Linked DNA regions of Homo sapiens: all the other regions are linked to region 1. The links are contacts of gene promoters, found by promoter capture Hi-C in blood cells and fetal thymus (Javierre and others, 2016). All regions are on one chromosome and are shown on one strand. Each heading gives the region's core, a stretch centred on a gene start or on the middle of the fragment in contact. The rest is flanking DNA. Distances are from core to core; before and after follow the strand shown. Region 1 holds the start of ANKRD63 (ankyrin repeat domain 63). Region 2 overlaps BUB1B (BUB1 mitotic checkpoint serine/threonine kinase B). Region 3 holds the start of BUB1B (BUB1 mitotic checkpoint serine/threonine kinase B). Region 4 overlaps BUB1B (BUB1 mitotic checkpoint serine/threonine kinase B). Region 5 overlaps BUB1B (BUB1 mitotic checkpoint serine/threonine kinase B).

Region 1 (5,242 bases), core at 2,463-4,962:
CAAAAAGGCAAGGTGTCCCTTAGGCAAATGCCATCTCTGGGTCCTGGAGATGAATTAGTCTCTGGCTGCAGGGGATGTATAGAAGAAGAGTTGACGCCTTCCCTTGGGGTACTGGGGCAGGTGAAGGACACCTGGGTTCCATCACTGCTGTGTATCTATGGGACTGGGGCAAGGCTCCCTTCACGCATCATGCCTCAGTTTCACCTTTTGCACAAAGAGAAGGGTCCCTACCCCTTTCCCAATTCCATTGCTGACTCAGACTCGAGTCCCCTGCTGACTCACCCCGCCCCCTGCATCCCCTGAGCAGCCCTCTGGATCTCCCAGACACATGCCACCAGGCCCAACCCTGCCAAGCTGGTGCAACGTGACAGCGTGAGGGGGCTGGTGACACTTGAGGAAAGAAGGGGCCTGAGAGGGAGGCAGTTGCAGACAGAGTGGCAGACCACACTGAGGCATCTTGGGGAGGGAGCCCTTCTGCCAGCCTGGGGCCTGCTGGGAGGACAGGCCCAGCAGGTGGGACAGGAGGGGAGAGGAGGGGAGGTGAGTATGACGTGCCTGCCTGCCCCCTGCCTGCCTGGGCTCCATCTCCTGTCAGCCTTCAGCTCCCTAAGCGACAGCTTCTAATTCCGGCTGTTGGTGCCTCTGTGCTCTGCAGCAAAGTCTCAGCTTTTTTTCAGCTTTGCTGTTTCTTTTCTGTTCAGAACATACTGAGCCCATAGAGAAGTCAGAGCAAAGGCTCCAGGGCTCGAGACCTGGCACCACCACCCCCTTCCTGCCATGGGAACCAACTGCTCCTTCCAAAGGGTACCCAGCACAGCACTTTCTGCCCCAACTCTTCTTCCCTGGAACTGTCTCAATCCACCACGGAGGAACAGGAACAGAAATGAAGCTCAGTTGTCTCAGGGAGGAGGGGCTCTTCAGGACCAAGAAAGTGCCCATTCTGGGTTTCTGCTGCTTCTCTCCTCCACCTGGGGGGGTGTGAGTCATGGCTTGTCAGGCTGGTGGGCCACACACAGGTTCCAGGGGTACACCCTCCTCTGACCTTGGAAATAGAAGGGAAGAAAGCAATTTCCCTCACAGTGCTGAAAAGAGAAGTTGAGTCATAAAGGGAAGAAAAGCCTTTCTTCTGCTGAGTAAAGGAGAGCATTCCTGCCCAGTTACTGGGGGTGGAGAGTCTCTATCCATTCCTGGGGGCCACCCCAGAAGGGGGCCCTAGCTCTGGGGCGGGAGCAGCTTTGAGGGCTGCACTCTAAATAACTATGCAGCTCTAGAAAACAAAACAAAACAAAATAAAAAAAATGAAATAACTATGCAGCTCTTTCCCTGACACTTTCTAACTTGTTCTTGTGTAAAGCAGGCAGGGCTGGTATTTATCAGTCTCATTTTGCAGCTGAGAATATGCAGGCTTGGAGCCACACTGCTAGTAAATGCCTTCAAGCTGGGACTTAACGCTGATGTCAGATCTGTGGCCTTTTCATGACACCAGGAAAGAAAATTGGCAGATCCCTGACCAAAGGCTTAACAAATGCAAAAAGAGAAAAGGGGGGCTTCGTAGTGGATGCAGGTACACATCACACGCTCCTCACGTGACAGAGGGGAGTGGGAGCCTCTGCTCCATGGCCTGGGTGCCAAATTCAAGGTGGACATCCCCGGAGCCTGGGAGCTGGAGAGAGGCAAGGGGTTCAGGGTGCAGGGCCATGAGCCCACTTTGCCACGCCTATCTATGCCCAGTACCTTTCCCCAGGCATCTCCTACTCCAAAGCATCTGCTCAGACTGAGAACACCATCATTCTTCCCTTATTTCCTGTCTCTGATAGGAAGGGACCCCTTAAAGCAGCCCTCAATAGTGTCCCCTGAAGGTTTATCCTGCTTCCAAGCCTTTGCCTCCAGAACCCGTCTGGAATTACTTCCTTTTTTTTTTTTTTTTTTTTTTTTTTTTGACGGAGTCTCACTCTGTCTCCAGGCTGGAGTGCAGTGGCGTGATCTCGGCTCACTGCAACCTCTGCCTCCCAGGTTCAAGCAATTCTCCTGCGTCAGCCTCCCAAGTAGCAGGGACTACAGGCGCGTGCCACCGCGCCCAGCTAATTTTTGTATTTTTAGTAGAGACGGGGTTTCACCATGTTGGCCAGGATGGTCTCGATCCCTTGATCTCGTGATCCGCCCGCCTCGGCCTCCCAAAGTGCTGGGATTACAGGCGTGAGCCACTGCACCCGGCCTGGGATTCCTTCCTTCTTTCTTTTGCAGCCAGATCCCGCACATCCTTGAAGGCCTATCTTTAAAAGGCCCGAGAGCCCTCTCCTGCCCACAACTCCATCTTTTCATCCAAGGACTGTGTTGGTACGTATTTAGCAGAAGAATTCAGCCCTCAGGTGACAACGTCCATTTTTTAAGTCCCAGTGTTGTCTTCTTAAGAGGTGGAACGTCTCGCACCCAGAACCGAGATTCTGTCTCTCTCTTACCCGCTGCCGGCAACAAAATGTGCGGCTCATGAAAAGTCTCAGTAAATTCTGCAGCTGATAACTGCTTTACTCCTTACTTTACAAATATCCATTCCAACCCTACTCACACCCTCCCCACCACCCACACCCAGGCTCTGAGGCGCCCTAACTCTGCTCCGCCCAGGCCTGTGTATCATCCCCCCTCCTCCAGGACCGAGGGGGACCTGCTGGCCGGAGGGAGAGGAGATGCAGTGGTTTCTCCAAGCATCTTACGGAAAATGGAACTTGTGCTCGCCTCCTCTCTTTAGGGGTCAGCCAGTGGTCAGAGCCAGAGCCCTGTGGCCTGGGGGTTGTTTTGTGCTCAAGGGAGAAGCGAGGGGCAGGGAACCTCGAGTGGGTCCCTAGCTCTTTCCAGGGTGGCGGCGCCAGGGAACTTTTAACATGTCCGCGGCACTCCCGGGTCCTAAGGAGCCCCTCCCTGGTCTGGGCGTCTACACTCTGCCCGCTAGGCAGCCACCAGGAGCTGGCACGCGGGCGCGTTGTCGGGGTTGGAGACGTCTGAAATTGGAGAGCGCACTCGGACCCCACCCCTCGTTCCCAGGGAGCGTGTGCGGGTGGAACAATTGTGTGTGAGTGCGTGATTCTCTGCACTTCGAGTGGCAGTTCCCAGCCAGGCTGAGCGCCCCCAATCCGCGGCACGTATACCCCCTCCCCCAAATTACTCCTCATCCGCCTTTCGCTGCCACCCCTAGCTCGCGCGTGGTCCAGTTCTGCGCTCATGGGGTCCCAATTCCTTTCACCCTGGACCGATGGGGGCAGCTTTCAGTCTTCCCCGACGAGGCCGAGGTCCCGCCAGTTTCTAAGGAGCCGAGGGCACCGACTCGGTTGGGGGCGGAGGGCGGGGAGAGAAGACTGCGACTTTGGGATTGGCCCGGTTGGGTGCATGTGGCCCCCGGCGAGCAGCCCCCGCCCCCGCCCCGCAACCGCCGCCGCATTCCCAGGGGAGCGCGGAGGAGGAACCGCTCCCCTACTTCGTGGCCCACGAAGGGGTGGGGGTCAGGAGCGGTCTCCCCCGCCCCGTCCGTCTCTGCCCTGACGGCGCAGTCCGCTCCCAGGACAGCCATTGCCATGGAGACCCCCAAGGCTATAAAGTCAGGTATCTAGGCGGGCGGCAGCTCCCGCGCCGCTGAGCCCCCCAAGTAAGGAGCAAGCGCCCTGGCGTGGCCCGGCCCCCGCGAGAGGGGAGGAGGCGGAGGAACGGCGCCAGCAGCTTGAGGAGCGGCGCGCCCCGCCAGGGCTGGAGGCAGGCGTGCACGGCGGGCGCCACCGTCGCTGCGGGGGAGCGGGGGCTGCCCTGGGTGCGGGTGAGTGGCACGGCGGCTCCAAACCACGAGGACTGAGGGGCGCCGGACACCGGGAAAGCGGCGAGAGACTCGGGAGAGGGTCGAGTCTCTGCTCCCGACGTCTGGTGGCGGGCCAGGAGCGGAGCCCGGAGTAGCGAGCAATCAACACCTCCAGGCGGGAGGCCCGGGGAAGGAGCGGCGACACGCCAGGCGTGCGGCCCAGGAGCGGCGGGGCAGTCGGAGCCTCCGGGACAGCGGAGTAGGAACCTCGGGACCCTCGGCTGCAGCCGCCCACGCGCGGAGGGAGAGGTATCAGAGCGCGGGCGGAGGCCGGAGCCCCGCGGGGCGCGAGAACAGGGGCGCCCCCGTGCGGAACTGCCAGGCTGCCCGGGCGCGGCGGCCGGGGCCATGCTCAAACCCAAGGACCTGTGCCCCCGAGCGGGGACGCGCACCTTCCTGGAGGCCATGCAGGCGGGCAAAGTGCACTTGGCCCGCTTCGTGTTGGATGCGCTGGACCGCAGCATCATCGACTGCCGCGCGGAGCAGGGCCGTACGCCGCTCATGGTGGCCGTGGGGCTGCCGGACCCCGCGCTGCGCGCGCGCTTCGTGCGGCTGCTGCTCGAGCAGGGTGCTGCAGTGAACCTGCGAGACGAGCGCGGCCGCACCGCACTCAGCCTGGCGTGCGAGCGAGGCCACCTGGACGCCGTGCAGCTGCTGGTGCAGTTCAGCGGTGACCCCGAGGCGGCCGACTCTGCGGGCAACAGCCCGGTGATGTGGGCGGCGGCCTGCGGCCACGGGGCGGTGCTCGAGTTCCTGGTGCGGTCCTTCCGCCGCCTAGGCCTGCGCCTCGACCGCACCAACCGTGCGGGGCTCACCGCGCTGCAACTGGCCGCCGCCCGCGGCCACGGGACCTGTGTGCAGGCCCTCACCGGGCCCTGGGGCCGCGCCGCCGCCGCCGCTGCGGCCCGGGGCTCCAACTCCGATAGTCCCCCTGGCCGCCCGGCCCCCGCGGCCAGCCCCGAGCATCGACGACCCAGCCCCCGCCGCCTCCCGCGGCCTCTCCTGGCGCGCTTTGCGCGAGCGGCGGGCGGCCACGGCGGCGAGGCTGGCTCAGCGGGCAAGAATTCGGGCCGGCACCGGGCGCAGGGCAGCGAACGGCCCGAGCTGGGTCGGAGCATGAGCCTGGCTCTAGGTGCGGTAACCGAGGAGGAGGCTGCCCGCCTGCGGGCTGGGGCCCTGATGGCCCTACCAAACTCGCCCCAGTCTTCGGGGACTGGGCGGTGGCGCTCACAGGAGGTGCTGGAGGGAGCGCCCCCAACCTTAGCGCAAGCCCCCATTGGCCTCAGTCCCCACCCGGAGGGCGGCCCCGGCTCTGGCCGCCTGGGTTTGCGCCGACGCTCCACAGCCCCAGATATCCCCAGCCTGGTCGGGGAGGCGCCAGGGCCCGAGAGTGGCCCGGAG
Region 2 (5,465 bases), core at 1,209-3,708, 67 kb after region 1:
ATGATTAGTTCAGGTTTGTGCTACATATTCAATCAGCAAATGTCTTATGTCTAAAGCTGAGTTAGAAGGAATTTCTGCATATAATGCCACCATACAAAAGACTTTACATTTGTGCTAATGTTCTTTTTATATACATTACTTCATTTACTCCTCATAACAATTCTGATAAACACATAGCAGAGACTGTTATCCCTATTTTACAGAGAAGATCACAGAAAATGACTTATAAAAGATTACATGGGTGGTAGGCAGTAGGAGTGGCCCTGGCACTCGGTTACAGAGTTAGTCATGTGTTTGCACATGTATGTGTATATTCTTCAATGCTGTAACACAAAAATGTTACATTTTACTTGACTTGGTGATATTTGAAAACTAGGTCATCTATTCTAGGAGTCGGTATCAGTAAACAGTAGCTTTTATAGCTTATCTAGATAATAAAGAGATTAAGAAACCCTCTCCATATTTGCTCAGGCTTGTTTTACACTTACCTGGTAGGGAGAAGAACAGTTAGCCAGGATCTTTTGTCCTTCCAGGATCTGTACAGTCCGAAAGCCGCTGAGGGTAAAAACATCCAGCTGCACCCTAAGGTCAACACTGTAGGAAAAGTCCACTATCTTCAAAGCTTGATTGTTCTTGTTACAATCATAGGGATCGTGGATTCTGAGCCCAGATTTAAGAGAAGGAGATAATAAAAATAGGCCATGAAAGAAGCTGCATAGCTGGTCTTTAAAAAAAAAAGGTACCTTGGGTACATCTTAGCTATGCCAACAACTCCCTCCAGTGGTTAATTTTGAAAATGCACCTGTAAGACAGAGCAGTGGCAGTGTCCACCCAATGCGGAAGGAATGTCACCACTTTGGTGACACAAAGTATATTTCAATCACGGTGCATGGCCACCATTAAACATTTATCAAGCTTCCATATTATATAAAGTAAGTATGGAAGCAGAGCACAGGCTTCTTCCCTGTACTGTACACATTAACACATACAATTGCAATGATTTATACACTGACAGGAATTATGATGGAGGAAATTAAAATTTTATAGGTGTCATAGCCTTTCTTGTTTACTATTCCAGATAGGCTTTCCAAGTATTGTTTAGATTCTTCCTTCCAGAGTTTAATGGAAAACAATGCAAGTCTGTTTTATAAAGTCCTATCTGTATTGTAAAATTTCTTGTAAAACACCATATTTTATCTTACTCTTACTTGTAATTCCAGTTATTTACTAAAAAAATCTTTATAATACTAATTAATTATCAATTAATTTTGTTTTCCTTGGGTTTATCTATCCTATGCAATAATGCTATTCTCCAAGGGGACATAGGAACTGTTTATAAATGAAAAGAGTGGGTTTTCATGTGTTCCTTTTGTCTGTTTTTCTCAATTAATTCCCTCAAACTCCTGATATTGGTGCAATATTCCTAAATACAGTCTTTAACTACTCCAATTACATACCTCCACGGCACAGAATGATCTATGTATTTTACTTTAAAATTGATAATTGCTCTCATTTTTCCTTGGCACAAGAGCCAACCTTTTTTGGCCACCATAAAACTATACTATAATTAAAAAAAAAAAAAAATATATATATATATATATATATATAGTATATATATAGTTATAGGGATCGTGGATTCTGATATATATAAAATATACATATGTATTTTATATATATATGTAAAGTGTGTGCATGTGTGTGTTTTGTTTGGTTTCTTAGACAAGGTCTACACTCTTGTCACTGAGGCTGGAGTACAGTGGTGCGATCTCAGCTCAGTGCAGTCTCTGCCTCCTAGGTTCAAGCGATCCTCCCATCTCAGCCTCCCGAGTAGCTGGGACTACTGGTGTGTGCCACCATGCCTGGCTAATTTCTTAATTTTTTGTAGAGATGAGGTCTCATTATATTGCCCAGACTGGTCTTGAACTCCTAGGCTCAAGTGATCCTCTGCCTTGGTCTCCCAAAGTGCTGGGATTACAGATGTGAGTCACCATGCCCAGTGTAATTGTAAAATATTTATATAACTTTGGAGGCATAGGGAAAAAATGTCTCATAGATTAATAAAAAGAAGCATGCATGAAGGTGTCCTAGCCCTCTAATCAGCTACTCACTCACTGTTACTTTGGGTAGGACATTCCATTTTTTTGGATCTCATTTTCCTCACAAAAAATATGCAGAAACTAAAGTAAGCAACTAAACTAAGCAATTTCAAAAGGTTCTTTCTGGCTTTTATTTTATTTTTGTAGAGACAGGGTCTTGCTATGTTGACCAGGCTGGTCTTGAACTCCTGGCCTCAAGAGATCCTCCTGCCTCTGCCTCCCAAAGTGCTGGGATTGCAGATGTGAACCACTGCATCCAGCCCTTTCTGGCTTTTGTTGTTGTTTTGTTTTGAGATGGAGTCTCGCTCTGTCACCCAGGCTGGAGTGCAGTGGCATGATCTTGGCTCACTGCAAGCTCTGCCTCCCGGGTTCACGCCATTCTCCTGCCTCAGCCTCCTGAGTAGCTGGGACTACAGGCACCTGCCACCACGGCTGGCTATCTTGTTGTATTTTTAGTAGAGACAGGGTTTCACTGTGTTAGCCAGGATGGTCTTGATCTCCTGACCTCGTGATCCGCCCGCCTCGGCCTCCCAAAATGCTGGGATTACAGGCGTGAGCTACTGCGCCCGGCCTCTGGCTTTTTTTTTGAGACAGAATTTTGCTCTTGTTGCCCAGACTGGAGTACAATGGTGCGATCTCAGTTCACCACAACCTCTGCCTCCTGAGTTCAAGCAATTCTCCTTCCTCAGCCTCCCAAGTAGCTGGGATTACAGGCATGCACCACCATACCTGGCTAATTTTGTATTTTTAGTAGGATGGGGTTTCTCCATGTTGGTCAGGCTGGTCTTGAACTCCCAACCTCAGGTGATCTGCCCGCCTCAGCCTCCAAAAGTGCTGGGATTGATTATAGGCATGAGCCACTGTGCTCGGCCCCTTTCTGGCTTTTAATTCCTTATGAATCTATGTGAAATTTCTGATTAAATTTGATAAGCAGTGACAAAGTAAAAAGCAATGCCTCTTTAATACTATGGACTTTCCTAGAGCCTCTAGTGGCTGAGAGAAGGGTTATCGTACTTCATTAGACCACAAATGGCCAATTCTAAAAGGCTTAGAAAAAACCTCTGCTTCCAATTTCCATAGCCCTGGGAATTTCAGCACTGTCATTTTAATGTTAAGTAGAGTGAAAATATACCAGGGGTTCTCATACTTGGAAATTTGGGGGGATTTTTGGTGGTCACAACGGCTTAGGGGATTGTTACTTGCACTTAATTGGGTGGGTGGGGGGGAATAGGAATATAAAACATCCTGCATTGCTTGGAACACACCTGCACAAAGAATTGTCTCACCCAAAATACCTATGGTGCCCTGGATGAGAAATGCTGCTACATTATGTCTGGGAAAGCCTTTGACTCTGCTATCTCAGGGGAGAAGGTGGGATTCTCTGGTTCTTTTGGTTACAATCACAGGAACACATTGAGGGTTCTTTTAATTTCCACGTTAACTATAATTTAGAGTCTAATTCAATCTCTTCTGATAGATTAAGTATTCAGAAGAAATGTAAAGAGTAAGTCCAGCTATTAGTGTATACCAGTGGCCTCAGAAACAAAGTTAACACCTCACCCAAGACACAGGGTTGGGCAGACACAGCATCTTTAAACCAGGCTGCTTTTACTCAAATACTATAACACCAATGATCACTAAAAGAATATAGTAGTCCTCTAGTACTTTTCACAAAGCAAAAATGTTGGACTGTTTTTGCCTAGTTAATGCCTGAACGTGATCTATATTTTCTCAGTCCTTAGTATTCATTTATTATTTCCTGCTCTGTGCTCACCCCTTGAACCTGATGGACACACTGGGTTTAATTTGAACACTAAACCCCATTCCTTGGCATAGTTTGTATTTGAACTCTGGTTTTACCCACTTCTCTTGGCTAACAGGTCAGTTAGGCCTGACTTAAGCTTTGGTCTATGAAACTGAGTAGTGCCTTGATTTTGCTGGCATCCTCGCTAGAGTGGCACTGGTCCCACTCAAAGAATGACTAAACAATCCACTTTATATTCCTCAAAATATTCATATTTTATATCTCATCTTGACATATATCATCACAATACTCAGTGATTAATTCTTTTATCTGATTTAATCTATTTCCTCAATGTGTTTATTTCTTTGAATTATTTTAAACTATTCTTAATGATTTTTGACTTTTAGGTAAATACTCTCTTAACATAATATGTTCCTCGATATGGCATTTATCAAAAGGCTTTAAAAATTGGCAACTTGGCCGGGTGCAGTGGCTCACGCCTATAATCCCAGCACTTTGGGAGGCTGAGGTGGGCAGATCACTTGAGGCCAGGAGTTTGAGACCAGCCTGGGCAACATGGTGAAACCTCATCTCTACCAAAAAATACAAAAAATTAGCCAGGTGTGGTGGTGCGCGCCTGTGGTCCCAGCTACTAGCAAGGTTAAGATGGGAGAATCGTTTGAACCTGGGAGATGGAGGCTGCAGTGAGCCAAGATCATGCCACTGTACTCCAACCTAGGTGACAGAGTGAGACCCTCGCCTCAAAAAAGAAAAAAAAAAGTGGCAACTATCCATGTTTTAAGAGACAGCTGGCAGAATTATAAGAATGAAAAGGACCAACCTGTTTCTGAGAATCAGACACCTTGGACTCAAGTCACCATGGACTATTTCTGCTTTGTGTAGCATCTCCACTATTGTCAAAAGGTTATAAATAATCAACACTGTTATTTCATGGGTAATATATTCACTGTGTTGGAGAAGATCCTGGAAATTGAAGGACAGAAAACTCACTATTTCTCAAGTTTGGCAGATCGTAGTTATACTCAATACCTTGAAAACTGATGGTTTGTAGTCTTCCTTGTTCTCTACTGGAACGTAGGCACCTCTGTAGACTGAGTCTATGTCCCAGTTTTAATAACACTGCCATCTCCCATAAGATTGTTTGTAAGGATTTAATGACATAATGATGAAGGGCATCAAGCATGAGCCTGGCCCAAAATAGGTACTTAATAAATGGATTTAAAATACCCTCATTCCAACCATTTTTGAGAATTCATATTATCATCAAAATCCATAGCAAACCTTCTTAAGAACAAACCGAAGAGTAAAATGACATATTGTGTCTGGGTTTTAAAAACTATCCAGTGGGGGTAGTATAGCTAAAACAAGAGTGACCATGAGCTAAGATTATCATAGATGACTAGTTCATGGGAGTTCATTGTACAATTCTACTTTTATTTATGCTTGACAACGGACCAAAAAAAGTTAAAAAAATACCAAAGAGATCTTTGGTCAAAATAACGAGAAAATTATCAATGCTTCTAACTTATACTTGAATTGGTCTATTTCTAGAAGATTGACAGGAATTTTGTACTAAATTCCTTTGCTAAATGGAGCACAAATCT
Region 3 (5,565 bases), core at 2,408-4,907, 120 kb after region 1:
TTTGATACCAGCCTGGGCAACATAGCAAGACCCTGCCTCTTTCTTTAAAAAAAAAAAAAAAAAGAAAAATGAATAGGGCTTAAGGCAGAAAGAAAAGAAGGGAACAAAAGTGTTATAAATTTGGCAAAGTAGACAAAAAGGCAACAAGTAATTCTATGCCTACCATTGAATGCATCATCTAGTTTAATTTAAAATTAGTGCCGGATGTGGTAGCTCATGCCTGTAATCCTACCACTTTGGGAGGCTGAGTCAGGAGAAGTGCTTGAGCCCAGGAGTTCAACACCACCCTGGGCAACATAGGAAGACCCCCATCTCTACAAAAAGTGAAAAATTAGCCAGGCGTGGTGGTACACGCCCATGGTCGTGGCTACTTAGAAGACTGAGGTGGGAGCATTGCTTGGGTTCAGGGGTCGAAGCTGCAGTGAGCCATGATCACACCACTGCACTGCAGCCTGGGCAACAGAGCAAGACCCTGTCTCAAAAAAAAAACATTAAAATTAGCAAAGTGTGGGTGAGACTAATGTCCCATGTTTCAATGATGATTCAAAACTGAAGTTTGTACATATAAGTAGCTAAAAGCAGAAGCAAACAAACACAGTTTACTAGTCACAATTCCCTGCATCCTCACACCCAATTCTAGCAAGCCTACTGAGAAAACCCCCGAAACGTTTTGGAGGTAATTCCCATTACGTATTCTGCAATTCAGAGCCCTGCAATGGTTAGATAGAAGACTATTTCTAAGAGACATTACCTCTGGACTTAAAACAAAAAGAGAGACACATTGGCACTAATCTTTGAAATAGAGTGAAAGTTATATGTGACTTCAGTCTAGATGAGCACTGAAAACTCGTTGGAGACAGCTTCTTGGAAACTATGACTTTAATCAAAATGACATGTAACAAAACCAATTTTACCACAGGCTGATCGACATAAACAAAAGTTAAGTTCCTATGGCATATTTCTGGTCACAAAAACGTCACCAAACTTCTGAATAAAGACTCGAAACAAACATTTTTAATACTAAATATTGAAATAAATGTGAGCTATCCGTACACTTAAGAACATTTAATGAAAACAAAAAATAATCATTTACCCAATTTTTGGCGAATCAGTGAATGACTGCAGTCATAGTGTTGGTGGGTTAACTCAAGGAATAAATGTTTGAGAGTGAAAATTTCAAGAAGTACCTCCTACCACCACAAAGTTCAAAAAACAAATAGTAACACTATAGTGGGCATGCTGGGCACTTTCATAAGGCATTGTTTATTGTCATGCATTTATATGATTATCATACACACTTTATATAAACTTTTTAAATAGAGACAGGCCTTACTATGTTGCCCAGGCTGGTCTTGAACCGCTGAGCTTAAGCAATCCTGTTGCCTCAGCCTCCCGAAGTGCTGGGATTACAGGTGTGAGCCACCGCTCCCAGCCTTTACAGATTTTTATTTTACAGTAATTTGTATTCATTCCTTCATTCATTTTCCAACTCACTTATTCTAGTTCGGGGTTGAGGGTGGCCAGAGCCCATCTCAGCAACTCAGAGAGGAACCAACCCTGGACAGGACACCACTCCATCACAGGGAGCATCACATTCACACCCATTCAGACTGGGATCATTTAGACACGCCAATTAACAGGCACATCTTTGGGATGTAGAAGGAAACTGGAGTACCTAAGGAAACCCATGCAGACATGCGGAAAACATGAAAACTCCACATACACAGCAGCCCCGCAATGAATTGATTTTTTTTCTCATCAACATTATAACGAAACGATGTTATACCAGGACCTGCTCTATATTGTGTGAACTCTGTAAAGGTAAGGGCTATGCCATTTATTTTTGTATGCCCATGATCTAATACGAGATATAACACTATTATGCCCTGTTTGTTGAATTCATCTGAACTTTCTTCTCTTGCTCTTAAAAATAGTGAATTACACTATCTCAGTTAAATATCCCAAATTGAGCTAAGACTGCCCCCACTTCCTCCCAGACCTGCTCCTCCCACAGTCTTCCTCTTTCTCAAATAAATGGCAATCCCATTCTTCAGTTACCCAAGCCAAAAATCTTAGTGCCAACTTTGATGCCCTTCTCATACCCCTCAGTCAGTCAGCAAGTCCTACTGGTTCTACCTTCAAAATATATACAGAAATCAACCACTTATCATCATCTCCACTGTTTTCCACCTGGCTCAACTCACTTTTGAGCTGAATTATTTCAATAACCTCTTAACTGGTGTCCCTTGCTTCCATCCTTTGCTGCCTTTAGTGTATTCAACACTACAGCCAAAGTGACCCCATTTAAACCCAAGTCAGATTATGTCTTTCCTTTGCTCAAAACCTTCCAATGACTTTTGATTACAACTAGAGTAAAAGCTAAGTCCTTACAATCTGCATCTTCACCATTTTTACATAATATCCTTTTACTCTTCTAGTTAATTCTGCTCCAGTGACAATGGCCTTGGACATGCCAGGTGCAACTTCCTCCCCTAGCTCTCACCCTCAGCCTTTGTACTCTCCTCAGATATAGAACCTCTAGCTTTTGAGATTCCTTCAAGTCTTGACCAAAGTGACATCTCCTCAGTGAGACTCCAGTGTTCAAGTTAAATTGCACCAATCCCCACCCCCAATATTCACTACACCCAGTTGCTTTATTATTTTTTTTAGTACTGACCACATCTCCACCTAACAGTTTGTCTTTATTGTCTGACTCCCCCACCTTCATCCCATGCCAGAACTTAAGCTTCATGAGGGTTGAGATTTTTGTGTCTGTATATTTGCTGCACTCAGAGCTTAGCCAAAAAAATACTTGTTACATGAATGAAAGAGCCCATGACATAGCACTTATCTAGGTATTGCGGGCACCACAGTGAAAACACATACAGATTTCCAACCTAGAACTGCAATATAGTTTTTTTAATACAAGGAAAAGCCGCAAACATGCAGAAAAAGGCTTTTAGATCTCTATGTTATTGGCATAATTTAGATCTCTATGATATTGGCTAAAGGCTTTCAGATCTCTGTGCTATTGGCATAGCACCTGCCATTTGTTGAGCGCTTATTTGGAAGCAGTTACTTAACAAATACTTTGAATTCCCCCAGAACCACGTAAGGCAGCATTAACATCAGCATTTTCCATACAAACGATTTGCCCAAGGTCAAACAACTAGCAGGTGGCTGAGCTGAGTTACAAACAGACAACATTGCAACTTCCAAACTCTTTGTTCCGCTGGGGTCCCGCAGCCTTCTTCGCTTTGAAGCTGGATGCGGCAGGATTCGCACGTGCCCTCAGTCCACTGCGTTTTCACCTCCACCTCCGGCATTCTACTCCAAAAGGAAGGAGGCTCCGGTGGGGTCTGTTCTGACGGTGCCGATCTCCCCCTCGACTGCTCCGAGCGGAGCCTTCTATTACCTACCAGGCCGTGTCCTCTCAGGCCCAGCCCCCAGCAGCTTTCTCCCGTACCTACCTCAGAGCACCCCCTTCCTTCTTCACCGCCGCCATCCTGCATTCCTGGCTCAGGTCCTCGTCCTGCTGCAGGCCTTTCCTCTGGGCCACAGACCGCCTGGGCTTTCTTCCGCAACCTGCCCTCGGAGCTACAGAAGCGACCAAGGCACGTACACGACTCCCTAACAAACCGGCCACCTCAAGCCCACACCCCTAGCCGCCAAGTTTCAAATTTAACGGTCCCGCGCGGTCGACGTGGCCACGCCCCTCCGCTCCTCCGTGCTCTCGCGTCTCGCCCAAGGCATTCTGGGGCTTGTAGTTTATGCCTGTTTAGTCCGCGAACTCGCGGTGCATAATGGGAATTGTAGTTTTTGGGATTCAATGGCCGTGGAAGTGCAGCAGGCTTAGGCAAAACAAATACCCCCAGGTGCTGTCTTGAGTCGCGGCTCGAAGCCGAGTCTCTGAGCCGAGCGAGGAACACTTAAAGCACCAGAACTTCTTTGCTGTTTTGAGTGTTGGGAGATGTCTCTGAGTGCTTGCACTTGGCGTGACTCTTGTAGGGTGACTACCCCTGCTGTCTGCCCCAAATCTCACCCGTCCGGAGTTCTTAGGCCACTGACCTAGCTGTTTCCTGCCCCACCCTTGAATTCAAAAAGCTGGATTCTAGTTCTGTAAAATCATACCAAATGTGCAACCTTAGGCAAGCTACATAATCTTTCTGACCATCAGTTTTCCTCATCTATAAAGTGATGATACTGTCTTGCTTTCTCTTCTGCTCAGTCCACAAGCAGTAAACACAGCCATGCTATGGTTCCCAAGGTGTTACCTCTTTTCCCCTTCAGGGGACTAGCCTTGACTGACATTAAACTGTTTGTTGCAATTTCAATTTTCTGAGGAAGAAATTGTGATAGCTCAGATGTGACCAGGGGAGTAGAGTCTTTTTGTTTGTTTGGTTGGTTGGTTTTGTTTTAGAGACAGGGTCTTCTTCTTGCTCTGTTGCCCAGGCTGGAGTGCAGTAGCCCCATCATGGGGCTACTGCATTCCAGCCTCCAACTCCCGGGGTCAAGTGATCCTCCCACCTCAGCCTCCGCAGTAGCTGCGATTACAGGCATTAGCCACCTTGAGGAAGGAACAGGGTCATTTAAGAAAGCCCAGGTACAGGGGAGTTCTCCTTTATGACTGTGGGGATGGTCAGAGAGGTGGCACTTCCCAGAGGCAGATGCTGAGGATACTGTCCACTACCCTCTGGTTCTTAGTTCCCAGCTTTCTGTCTTTGTTCATGTTATATAAGTCCTTCTTTCCTCTGAATCATCAGGACTCTTGATTCCAAAGAAGTAGAAATCCAACTTAAATCGGCCTACTCAGAAAAGGGAATTTACTGTCTTTTATATATAAAAGACTTCAGATAAAGCTTAACCCAGGACTCATGTGGACTGGGCCTCTCTCCATTTCTCGCCTCTACTCTTGTTGTTGGCTTATTGTCATTCTCCATTGGGTAACAGATTCACGACTTTATCCTTACAGGTTCAAATTCAGACTTAGGAGTCACCCTGCTTAACCCCTTCCTCCCAAACAGTCACTGGGGATAGTGGATTCAGGGCTTTGATTGTTCAGAACCAAGTCATGTGTTTCACCTTGGGACTGAGAGAGGGGAAGGGGTGATTCCTCATAGGAAATTTTGGTTACTCTTTACATCAAAGTCCTCCACATCCAGGAAGCTTTCCTGGATCATATGAGGTGTGGTGCGTGGGATTCTCTCACTGGCTCATTTTATCTCTTACCTTATGTCAGTACTGGCCTAGCACTTCATTTTCTTTCAACAGGGTGTCCTGTTCATATCTACAGCTTCTCAATTTTGACTATTTCCTACAAACAATCTTGGAAACGTAGTGTTTGGTCTTTTGATCTCAGTCTTTCCTATAACCTAGTCGGATTCCCCATAAACTCTGCTACGATGTAGAATGCATTCAGGCTAAACCCCTTGCTTGTTTCACTACGGGAAAAGAAGGAGGTAGGTAAAACAAAACTCCAAAATGTATGACAGAAGGTACTCTGTGGTTTAATTTGGAAAATGAGTTTTTAGGGATGTCCCATGAACTGATGGGTGGAGCTCCCAG
Region 4 (5,094 bases), core at 118-2,617, 84 kb after region 1:
TTTACTTGACAAACAGAACTGGATAGAGTCATTCCTGGTATTTTCTGAGACTCGGAAGCAATTTGCAGTTTAGTTGTCTCCTTTGTAGGCATCGTCTCTTCTTGCTGTTTGCATTAAATAAACAAAATCAATGTCCCTCCCATCCAGAAAATGCTATTTTCTAGTTCTAACATTAGCTTTACTGTACTCTTTCCCTAGACATCCACTAACAGTACAAAATGAGTGTACCACAAAAGTCATTTCCAATAATTTTTATTCCTACTCTAAACCAGTACTGTTGTACTCAACTGAGCAGTGCCAGGCATATACTAAATTTCTTTAGGCAATCCCATTTTAATGGAACATAGCTAGAATAAAAAGCTTAAGCCAGAATTAATAACATAATGATTTGGAGTATAACTAAGAAGTCAATAAACTGCACCACTTATTTCACATGCCACAAATTCCATTTGAAGTCACCTGTTAAATTACTTTCCCGCTCAACTTTCCGGCTACTAACAGCTAAGAAACTACCAGAAACTCTAAATGGGGGTTGGGAGGACTTTAACCTTCTATATTTTTATAATGTTTAAATTTGTTTCAATAAATTCTAGTTTTGTGTATGAAAAAAGAAAAATTACCTGATCACCTGTTCTTTCTTGCTGAGTAGTTTGGATTTCTTTTAGCTTCTTCTCCATCTCTTCAATCTGTTTCTGCATTTCTGCTCTCTTCTCTGCACTGGTCAATAGCTCGGCTAGAAACAGTAAAGTTGCTTGAGGTATTATTCCTCATAGTAACTCATTCTGTCAAAAACTGCCTTTGGAGCTCATCTCCTCAACATATATGTTACTAATACAGATGAAAATGATTTAAGTGGAATAAGGTCCTCAACTTGTGGTCTAGGCCTCTATTCTTTATCCATTCAATAAAAAAATAGAATACCTTTGAACAACACAGGTTTCTACTAAAAGGAAAAAAACATTGAATACCTACTATGTGCCAAGCACAGCTCTGAGTACTTAGGTTTCAGTGGTACATAATACAAAGTCCTTGGTTATGTGATACTAACATTCAAATTTGGGGGCAACACACACACAAGAAAATCAGTTTAGGAAAAAGAATAAAATAGGTGACGTGAGAATGTTTGACTGGGTAGGGAGATGGAGGCCAAGGGAGGGCTACTTAAGACCAGTGATCAGGGAAGATCATTCTGATAAAGTGACAGTATTAAGCTGTAATTTAAATGATAAGGGGCCAAAGTTCTGGGGAAAGATTCTAGGCTAACAAACTAGGTGGCACAAAGGCCCCAATGCAGGAAAAGACCACTGTGTCTAAGAATCCAAAGGAAGTCCAGTGTAGTTGCAGCATAGTAAGAGGGTGAATAGAAAAAGATGGGGTTGGAGAGGTAGGTAAAGGCTAAGCCACATGGAGTTTTGTTTGTTTTTGGAGATGGGGTCTTGCTATATTGCCCAGGCTGGTCTCAAACTTGTGGGCTCAATCCTTCTGCCTCACTCTCCTGAGTAGCTGGGACTACAGGCACATGCTACCATGCTTGGCCATGCAGGGTTTTGCAGGTTAGGGTAAAGAGGCATAGATAGTAAGCCATGTGCTTATTAGTCAATTAATGAATGATGGAGTGTGACTGAAAAGTCTGAGGTGAGTACACTAAGGAGGCTCAGGAGATAGAAAAGAATTAGAGGACAGAAATCTGAAAGAAGCTAAAGTTTTTGAAAGAAGAGGGAAAAAATGATTTGGAAGTGCAACGCAAAGAAAAAACAACCTTTGTGTAGGCCCTGATTGTGGCTTCCTCTTTTCTTGTATTTTTCCCTGAGAGTAAGTAGTTGGCAAGTCTTTGAAGTCAGTTTTTGACAGTAACTAGAAACCACATTTATTGAAATGAGGATTTATGTAAGGGTACAAACTTATACACAGATGGGAATTTATACAAGTTCATGAAATAGATTCAGAGACCAGCTTAGAAATAAGCATTAAGGTCTGCATGGTGGCTCATGCCTATAATCCCAGCACTTTGAAAGGCCAAGGTGGGAAGGATAGCTTGAGCCCAGGAGTTTGAGACCAGCCTGGGCAACACAGGGAGATCCCATCTCTCTATTTAAAAAAAAAAAAAACACAATAGAAATGAGTATTAAAAAATTCTCAGAGGTCAATGCCTTCTTATTCCTAATTAAATCCCATGTAATCTAGAGTAGGTCCTTCTTTGGCTAGTTGAAAACAAAATGTACCTTTTCTTTTTCCCACAGAGATGAGAATTCACCATGTTGCCCAGGCTGGTCTTTTTTTCCCAAAGTGCTGGGATTACAGGTGTGAGCCACTGTGCCTGGCCCTAAAATGGACTTTCATTTTCCTTCTATATATCTGGTACAGACTAAGCTTTTCCCTTAGGAAACAGTTTTTATCTAGATACCTAGTTCCTTTTCTGGTTCATATTTGGCCACCCTCCTAGCCTATTTCTTTGCTGGAGTGGTTCTCCTTTTTTAAAAGCCTTACTCAACACCTTGCTTTGCAACCATCCCTCTCTTCTACCTAGACACACAAGTTCCATTTGAACCCAGAGCACTTTTGACAATCTTGGATGACACTAATTAGTGTAACAAATGAAGGCAATTTCAAACTTACTAACAGTCTGCTTTACCAAAGTTTGCTTCCAGGTTGTCACCTGGAACTCAGAAAAGATTGCTCCTCAAAGTATAAGTGATGGTTAAGTTTCCCAGCTAACCCCACAAACACCACATCCTGTTAAGAGAGCTGAGCTATATTAGTAGGTTATTCTGGATACGGATGTATAAAAGAAACATTACTTTCTCCTTACAGATCCTAATAAAAAATGTCTAAATGGAAGTGGACCCTCCCCTACCTCATTTTCTGTACCCTTCTTTATTCTCCTTCACCTTCTCATGCCTTAAGCCCCATATGCCTTACTTCCCTACTTTCCAGCCCATTCTGCCCTACCTCTTGCCTTCAAGTACTCCAGGCTCCAGAATCAGAACTGCTTCCTGTTTCCCAAAAATTCCCCATATCTCAATTTTTAAACCTTTTCCTTTAATTTAGAAATATAATGTCTTTAAAAAACAATACGAATATCTATAATCTAAATCACTGCAGTATGACCTACTATGTTAATCTAAATAAGCCCTTGGAGAAATTTCAGACAAAGTATCAAAGGTAAAGTGAAATATTTCAAGCAATAACATTAGGAAAAGTACTTAATAGGGATGCATGGAATGTACATATATGCATGTCAGGGATCATAGCTGCTTGCTTATTGTATTGGGGAATATAAATTGTTCATACAGTTCAGAACTTCTTCCTTTACTTCTAAACATACTCAGTGCCCCCACACCCCAAGGAGTTTTCATGGAAGGCAGCAATGGGAGTTTGGCTGATACACAGAAACAGTACAACCATAGAAGGCAGCAGTGGGATTTTGGCTGATACACAGAAAGAAACAGTACTACCATAGAAACATCATACAAAGGTACAAACTATAAGGTTAGTTTTCTTCAGACTTAATAGGTCAGCTCAACCTTCACACAACTAAGTTAAGTCCTCTTCACAAACTTGAATTACACACACCTTCCCTTTGCTCTTTTAATTTCTTCCGGAAAACTTCAGCCCGAATTTCTTCAAAGGAGAATTCCCCTACTCCTGCATAAATCTTCTCCTTACAATACATCATCTTCTCTTTCTTCTCCTCAGACGCTTGCTGATGGCTCTGAACCCTTTGTAGAGGATCTCCTTCTTCCTTTCCAGGCTTTCTGGTGCTTAGGATGTGGTTTATACTAGGTTCAATTTTACATGGTGTCCTAAAGAAGCAAAATTACTATTATTCATATGGGTCAAAATAAAAAAAATCAATAAGATTGATAAAAGAAGCTAAAAATAATTTACAAGGGCCATCAATAATTATGTTCTGCAAATCTGGAGGCCTTACATTACCTGACTTCAAACTATGCTGTAAGGCCATAGTCACCAAAACAGCATAATACTGGTATAAAAACAGGCATATAGATCAATGGAACAGAATAGAGAGCCCAGAAATAAAGCCAAATACTCACAGTCAACTGATCTTTGACAAAGCAAACAAAAGCGTAAAGTGGGGAAAGATACTCTATTCAACAAATGGTGCTGGGATAATTGGCAAGTCACAAGTAGGAGAATGAAACTAGATCCTCCTCTCTCACCTTATACAAAAAATCAACTCAAGGTGGATCAAAGACTTAATTAAATCTAAGATCTGAAACCATAAAAATTCTAGACGATAACACTGGAAAAACCCTCCTAGACATTGGCTTCGGTAAAGACTTCATGACCAAGAACCCAAAAGCAAACGCAACAAAAACAAAGATAATTAGATGGGGCTAAACTAAACTAAAAAGCTTCTGCACAGCAAAAGGAATAATCAGCAGAGTAAACAGACAACCCACAGAGTGGGAGAAAATCTTCACGATCTATGCATCCGACAAAGGACTAATATCCAGAATCTACCAGGAACTCAAACAAATCAGCAAGAAAAAAACAAACAATCCTATCAAAAAGTGGGCTAAGGACATGAATAGACAATTTTCAAAAGATAAACAAATGGCCAACGAGCATATGAAAAAATGTTCAGCATCACTAATTATCAGGGAAATGCAAATCAAAACCACAACGCAATAACCCCTTACTCCTGTGAGAATGGCCATAATAAAGAAATCAAAAAATAATAGACACTGGCATGGATGTGGTGAAACGGGAACACGTTTACACTGTTGGGGGGAATGTAAACTCGTACAACCACTATGGAAAACAGTACGGAGATTCCTTAAGGAACTAAAAGTAGATCCACCATTTGATCCAGCAATCCCACTCCTGGGTATCTACCCAGAGGAAAAGAAGTCATTATATGAAAAAGATACTTGCACATGCATATTTTAGCAGCATAATTCACAACTGCAAAAATATGGAACCAGCCCAAATGCCCATCAATCAATGCATGGATAAAGAAAATGTGGTATATATCTACCATGAAATACTACTCAGCCACAAAAAGGAACAAAAAAATGGCATTTGAAGCAACCTGGATGGAATTGGAGACCATTATTCTAAGTGACGTAA
Region 5 (5,337 bases), core at 2,732-5,231, 100 kb after region 1:
ATATAAACCTAATTAATGTTTATTCCTTAATAAAATATTAACAAATGGTCTTTTAACCCTAACATACTCAAAGGAATACAAACATAAAGGATATACAAAATTTTGTCTGGTTACTTTTTTTTTTAATAAATAGAGACAGGGTCTCACTAGGCTGCCCAGGCTGGTCTTGAACACCTAGGCTCAAGGGATCCTCCTGCCTCAGCCTGTGCTGGGATTACAGGTGTGAGCTACTGCGCCTGGCCTGGTTACTTTCATCTTCATAAAGAAGAAACTGCCTTTGGGAAGTAGAATAGGTGCCTCTGCCCACCCTTAATAATTCCCACTTCAAAATATCCAAAAACCACACTCACATAACTGGCTGTCGTGCAGTCTCTTCCACATATGGAGTGAAACTGGGAAGCACAGCGGGTACAGCTATCAGTGAAGCTGTATTGCCACGAGGCTGGAGATGAAGAAGAAAACTAAAATTACCATAGTTTTATGTTCTCAGACAGCATATATAGACCATGGCTAAATATTCAAGAGGAATTAAAAGAGATGGTAAAAATACTTCTCTACCCTAAATGTGAAGTCTTTGTTGTGTCAGCAAAGCACTGGATCTAAGAGTCCTTACCCTGTGTTCCAAGGACCTGCCTGTGTTCCAAGGGCCTGCTTGCAGCTCATTCTCTTTGGCCCTGGGCATGGGGGGTGCTATCCATGGCTGGACTGTAGGCTTAGACAACTCTGCTGTAGAAGCCTCATCAGCATTTTCATCAAAAACAGTAATTCTACTATTATTTTGCATCTGTTGAGGAAATGGATTTTGGAGTCCTCTGTTCTGGCTTGGAGCTAGGAGCAAAAATATTAAAACCTCATGTAAAATGTTTCATTATTAACTTAGATGCCAGATAAAGTATACCTATTCTTCCTCAACTCAAGGACAGTATTTCCACTACAACAGAAAAAAAAAAAGAAATTTTAAAAATAATCTTTAAAAAAATTAATAAATCAAAAATAGAATCGTTTTATCCATTCTTTGTTACTTATATTCTGCCTTCTTTTCCCTCCTCCAGTCACCCCACATCTTTTATTCACAAATTTCCAAAAAAGACATTCTGCATCTTCCTTCAGTCATCATTATAACATTATCTAGTTTTATCAGAAACTAACCTAAGTTTTATTCTTCAGTTTTAAATTTTCTCTCAATGGAAATCAGCAGAGATATACTGGAACTAGAGAATACAAAATTAACCCATTTATTAGGGGTTTTCTCTGTTGTGGGGCTGGTTATTAACCAAGCTTCATCATGATCTGGATGAAATAGCCTTTGGGACCATACACTCCCTATATCCTAATTCTAGAACCACCAAGTAACATTCTGATTATTGATAAATTGATACCAGGAAAGAAATAAGAGATTAAAAAAACAGCCTGGTTTACATGTCTAACTGCTATAAATTTAGTAAATAAAAGCTTATTATTCTCTGTACCTTCTGCTCAATTTTGCTATGAACCTAAAACTACTCTAAAAAATAGTCAGTGTTGTCCAGATGCAGTGGCTCACACCTATAATCCTAGCTACTTGGGAGGCTGAGGCAAAAGAACTGCTTGAGCCTAGGAGTTTGAAGCTGCGGTGAGCTATGATTGCACTACCACGTTTCAGGCAACAGAGCGAGAACCTATCTCTCAAAAAAAAAAAAAGTCCATGTTAATTAAAAAAAATTATTGCTGATCTTTGGGTATATAGAGAGTCTAATTTCTGGTCCCAAAGGGCTCTGAAGGCAGGGTTCTTAACCATATTAGTATCATTCTCTGAGGCTTTGGTATATGTAAGCTTCACTTTAACAACACCTGCTATGTTACTACATATCTTCTTTCAACTAACAATTCAAACTCAGAAAATCTTGATGCTTCCTAAATGTTAGGTCTTTCTTAATTAAGACACAAAATTACTGATGCATTTTGATTTTACTGCACACTGTAATATTAGCTCTCCTTTGACTTCCTTCTTTTTGCTACTCAGTATTCAGCAAACTAGAAGTGTCCACAGGTATATTTATGTATTATCTTCTTACATGATTTTACCACTAGAAACTAACAGTTTTCCGAAATAACGTTTAACAAACTTACCCTTGAGAGCACCTCCTACACGGATGATTGGAGCTCTTGCTGTCTTTTTCCCTTTGCTCTTTAGTTCAGCTAGTGTGCTTCGTTGTGGTACAGAAGACTCAAAAACTTCCTCCTCTTCTTCTTTCTCAAGTGCCAACAGAGTTTGCCGAGACACTCGAGCTTGGAATTGTCTAAAGTAGCAGAATGCACAACTTTTAGTGAGGTGACCACTATTTTACCAGACTCAAAATTTCCAATTTGTTAAAGTAAACAAATTAGAAGAGCAGGCTGGGGGAAGAATGCAGAAATATCCCAAAGAACATGTTTATTCTCTCAGAAGTAAAGAGAGTCACCTTAAGATCATGAAAAGTTTTGGCTAGAATTATTTAACTCTCCCTTTAAATGCCCAAGTTTGACCAATTTAAATTATTCTGAAAATCACCATTAAGTTGATCTGAGGATCAGGTTAGGGTTATTAAGACTAAGATCACAGAGTTTATTAAGATTAGAGTTTTCCCACTAACTTTTTATTAGAAAACTTGACCCACCAATTGTTAACACTGTGCCACATCTATTTTATCACTGTGTCTCTTTTTCTATACACATGCATGCGCGCACGTGCACGCACACACATATACGGTTTCTCCTGACCTATATGAAATGAAGTTGCATATGACATGACATTGTACTTTAGCAAAGCTGGCAGAAGTTTGAAAAGTAAACTTCCTATGCTGCTGCCACAGTTTTAAGTATTATCAGAAGAGATTCTCCATTCCTACCACTGCTTCATTTAACTAGCCTTAAAAAGTATTATCATAAGGGTAAAAAAAACCCCAAAAAACCCAGAATAAATTGCAGGTGTTGGCCAAGATGGAGTATGCCCACTGTACCTTTTCTCTTTCTCTCACTGATAGGAATTAAAAACTATAGACCATATACAAAAAAAGCAACTAACTGAGGGCTCTGAAAAGTCAACAAAAGCAAGCAGACTGTGGAGAGGGGTCAAAACTTGAAGAAACAACCCACGCAGGATTGTTTCCTGTTTTTTTATTCTTCTATTTTCTCTTGTGGTTTTGAACTGTTGCAGTGGTGGTATGTGAATGTAAAACTCAGAGAAACCCCATCTTTCTGGCCTGAGGACTGGGAAAAGAGGACTCTGAAGGCCAAAGAATATGGGAGGAGAACTGCAAAGGAATGAGCTGAACAAGAGGATCTCCTAATTCTGTATGTGAATTGGCATACATCTTAGGTTCCCTCTTGAGCTATGCATGCACAGGGTAGATTCAAAGCAGCACAGAAAAGGCTTTGAGAACTGAACAATGATATAAACCACTGCCCAAGCCCCAGATTAACCCTTAAGCAGGACATGCATGGGACAGACCCAAAGCAACACAGCAAAGGTCTTGAAAACTGAACTGACAGTGGAACCAACAGCCACACAAGATGACAAAGAACTTGTAATATCTGAAGTGTGGTTGTCTACTAAGACAAAAACATAGATATTCTCCAGGGAATATTGGCCAACAGGATCAGAGTCTTATAACATATGGTCAGGATAAATGTCCAGGGTACAAGAATTACTTGACACACAAAGAACTAGAAAAATGTGACCAACTTTCAAAGGAAAAAACAATAAGCAAATGCAAACATAAAATGACCCAGATGGTATAGTTTTCAGATGGAGATTTTATTTTGTTTTTTGAGATGGAGTCTCATTCTGTCACCCAAGCTGGAGTACAGTGGCACAATCTCGGCTCACTACAACCTCTGCCTCCTGGGTTCAAGCGATTCTCCTGCTTCAGCCTCCCGAGTAGCTGAGATTGCAGGCACCCACAACCATGCACAGCTAATTTTTGCATTTTTAGTAGAGACAGAGTTTCACCATATTGGCCAGGCTGGTCTCAAACTGCTGACCTCAAGTGATTCCCCCGCCTTGGCCTCCCAGCGTGTTGGGATTACAGGCGTGAGCCACTGTGCCCAGCCTGGAGATTTTAAAGTACCTAATATAACTATGTTCCATGAGATGAAGGTAAAAACATTTGAAATGAATGGAGAGACAGAAATTCTCAACAGAGAAACAGAAATTATAAAAAAGAATGAAACAGAAATTTTAGAATTGAAAAATACAGTATCTGAAATAAAAAATTTATGTTGAATGGTTTCAATAGCAGGATGGAGATGGAAGAGAAAAGAATAAGTGAACCTGAAGACAGAGCAATAAAAATGGGCCAATCTGAAAAACAAAAAGAAAAATGGTTAAACAGAGCTTCAGGGACCTATGGAATGATATCAAAAGGTTTAATTTGGACAGATTATTGGTAGCAGAGTCGGGGGAAATGGTCTAAAATTTGTGCAACTGAAGTCTCAGAGAGAGAAAGAAGAAAGAGATAATAGGTATAAAAAATCATTTTAAAAATAACGGCTGAAAACTTGTCAAATTTTGTGAAAGGCATACATTTACAAATTCAAAAGGCCCAGTGAAGCCCAGATTAAATGTAAAGAAAACCACATCTAGGCCAGGCGTGGTGGTTCACGCCTGTAATCCCAGCACTTTGGGAGGCCGAGGCGGGTGGATCACCTGAGATTGGGAGTTGGAGACCAGCCTGACCAACATGGAGAAACCCCATCTCTACTAAAAATAGAAAATTAGCTGGGTATGGTGGCGCATGCCTGTAATCCCAGCTACTCAGGAGGCTGAGGCAGGAGGATCACTTGAACCCGGGAGGTGGAGGTTGCTGTGAGCTGAGATCGTGCCACTGCACTCCAGCCTAGGCAACAGAGCTAGACTCTGTCTAAAAAAAAAAAAAAAAATCACATCTAGACACATCACAATCAAACTTCTGAAAACCAAAACTAAACAAGAAAAAATCTTGGACAAGGCCAGAGGAAAATCAACACATTATGTATAGGTCAGGAACTACTAAATGACTACAGATTTCTTATTAGAAACCAGAGAGGGCCGGGCGCAGTGGCTCATGCCTGCAATCCCAGCACTTTGGGAGGCCGAAGCAGGCTCATCACGAGATCAGGAGATTGAGACCATCCTGGCTAACATGGTGAAACCCCATCTCTACTAAAAATACAAAAATTAGCCAGCCGTGGTGGCAGGCACCTGTAGTCCCAGCTACTCGGGAGGCTGAGGCAGGAGAATGGCGTAATCCCAGGAGGCGGAGCTTGCAGTGAGCCGAGATTGCGCCACTGCACTGTAGCCCGGACGACAGAGCGAGACTCCGTCTCAAAAAAAAAAAA

The links. The method cuts DNA at HindIII sites, captures the fragments that hold promoters and counts their contacts. A CHiCAGO score of 5 or more calls a contact.
Region 2: a contact is called between a fragment that was not itself captured here and the fragment with the promoter of ANKRD63 in region 1, in 17 of 17 cell types (M2 macrophages, megakaryocytes, M0 macrophages and 14 more). The highest score is 40.9, in M2 macrophages.
Region 3: a contact is called between the fragment with the promoter of BUB1B here and the fragment with the promoter of ANKRD63 in region 1, in 2 of 17 cell types (naive B cells and total B cells). The highest score is 5.0, in naive B cells.
Region 4: a contact is called between a fragment that was not itself captured here and the fragment with the promoter of ANKRD63 in region 1, in 7 of 17 cell types (M0 macrophages, erythroblasts, M1 macrophages and 4 more). The highest score is 10.3, in M0 macrophages.
Region 5: a fragment that was not itself captured here is called in contact with the fragment with the promoter of ANKRD63 in region 1 in 1 of 17 cell types (M0 macrophages); the score reaches 6.4 in M0 macrophages.

Annotation. Positions count from the first base shown.
Region 1 is chr15:40,281,534-40,286,775 of GRCh38, reverse strand. ANKRD63 (ankyrin repeat domain 63) reads left to right here and starts at 3,712. Exons shown (of 1, transcript NM_001190479.3): 1 at 3,712-5,242. The coding sequence starts at 4,190. It also overlaps a transcript of PLCB2 not described here. RefSeq lists silencers at 3,751-3,820, 3,891-3,950, 3,961-4,230. The HindIII fragment of the contact is 15,046 bases long and covers 1-5,242 here.
Region 2 is chr15:40,212,691-40,218,155 of GRCh38, reverse strand. It overlaps BUB1B (BUB1 mitotic checkpoint serine/threonine kinase B), which reads right to left. Exons shown (of 23, transcript NM_001211.6): 20 at 4,682-4,824; 21 at 489-660. The region is part of intron 1 of LOC107984763 (a long non-coding RNA gene); the gene reads left to right. It overlaps BUB1B-PAK6 (BUB1B-PAK6 readthrough), which reads right to left and starts at 728. Exons shown (of 10, transcript NM_001128629.3): 1 at 489-728. The HindIII fragment of the contact is 3,082 bases long and covers 918-3,999 here.
Region 3 is chr15:40,159,161-40,164,725 of GRCh38, reverse strand. It overlaps BUB1B (BUB1 mitotic checkpoint serine/threonine kinase B), which reads right to left and starts at 3,657. Exons shown (of 23, transcript NM_001211.6): 1 at 3,471-3,657. The coding sequence starts at 3,505. RefSeq lists enhancers at 2,502-3,266, 3,274-3,403, 3,424-3,523. The HindIII fragment of the contact is 2,113 bases long and covers 2,749-4,861 here.
Region 4 is chr15:40,195,254-40,200,347 of GRCh38, reverse strand. It overlaps BUB1B (BUB1 mitotic checkpoint serine/threonine kinase B), which reads right to left. Exons shown (of 23, transcript NM_001211.6): 9 at 3,574-3,803; 10 at 621-733; 11 at 1-104. The region is part of intron 1 of LOC107984763 (a long non-coding RNA gene); the gene reads left to right. Among named protein-coding and RNA genes, the nearest start is that of BUB1B-PAK6, 20 kb to the left of the region's middle. The HindIII fragment of the contact is 2,010 bases long and covers 363-2,372 here.
Region 5 is chr15:40,180,656-40,185,992 of GRCh38, reverse strand. BUB1B (BUB1 mitotic checkpoint serine/threonine kinase B) reads right to left here. Exons shown (of 23, transcript NM_001211.6): 6 at 2,110-2,279; 7 at 614-828; 8 at 351-442. All of the region lies in intron 1 of LOC107984763 (a long non-coding RNA gene), which reads left to right. Among named protein-coding and RNA genes, the nearest start is that of BUB1B, 22 kb to the right of the region's middle. The HindIII fragment of the contact is 4,331 bases long and covers 1,816-5,337 here.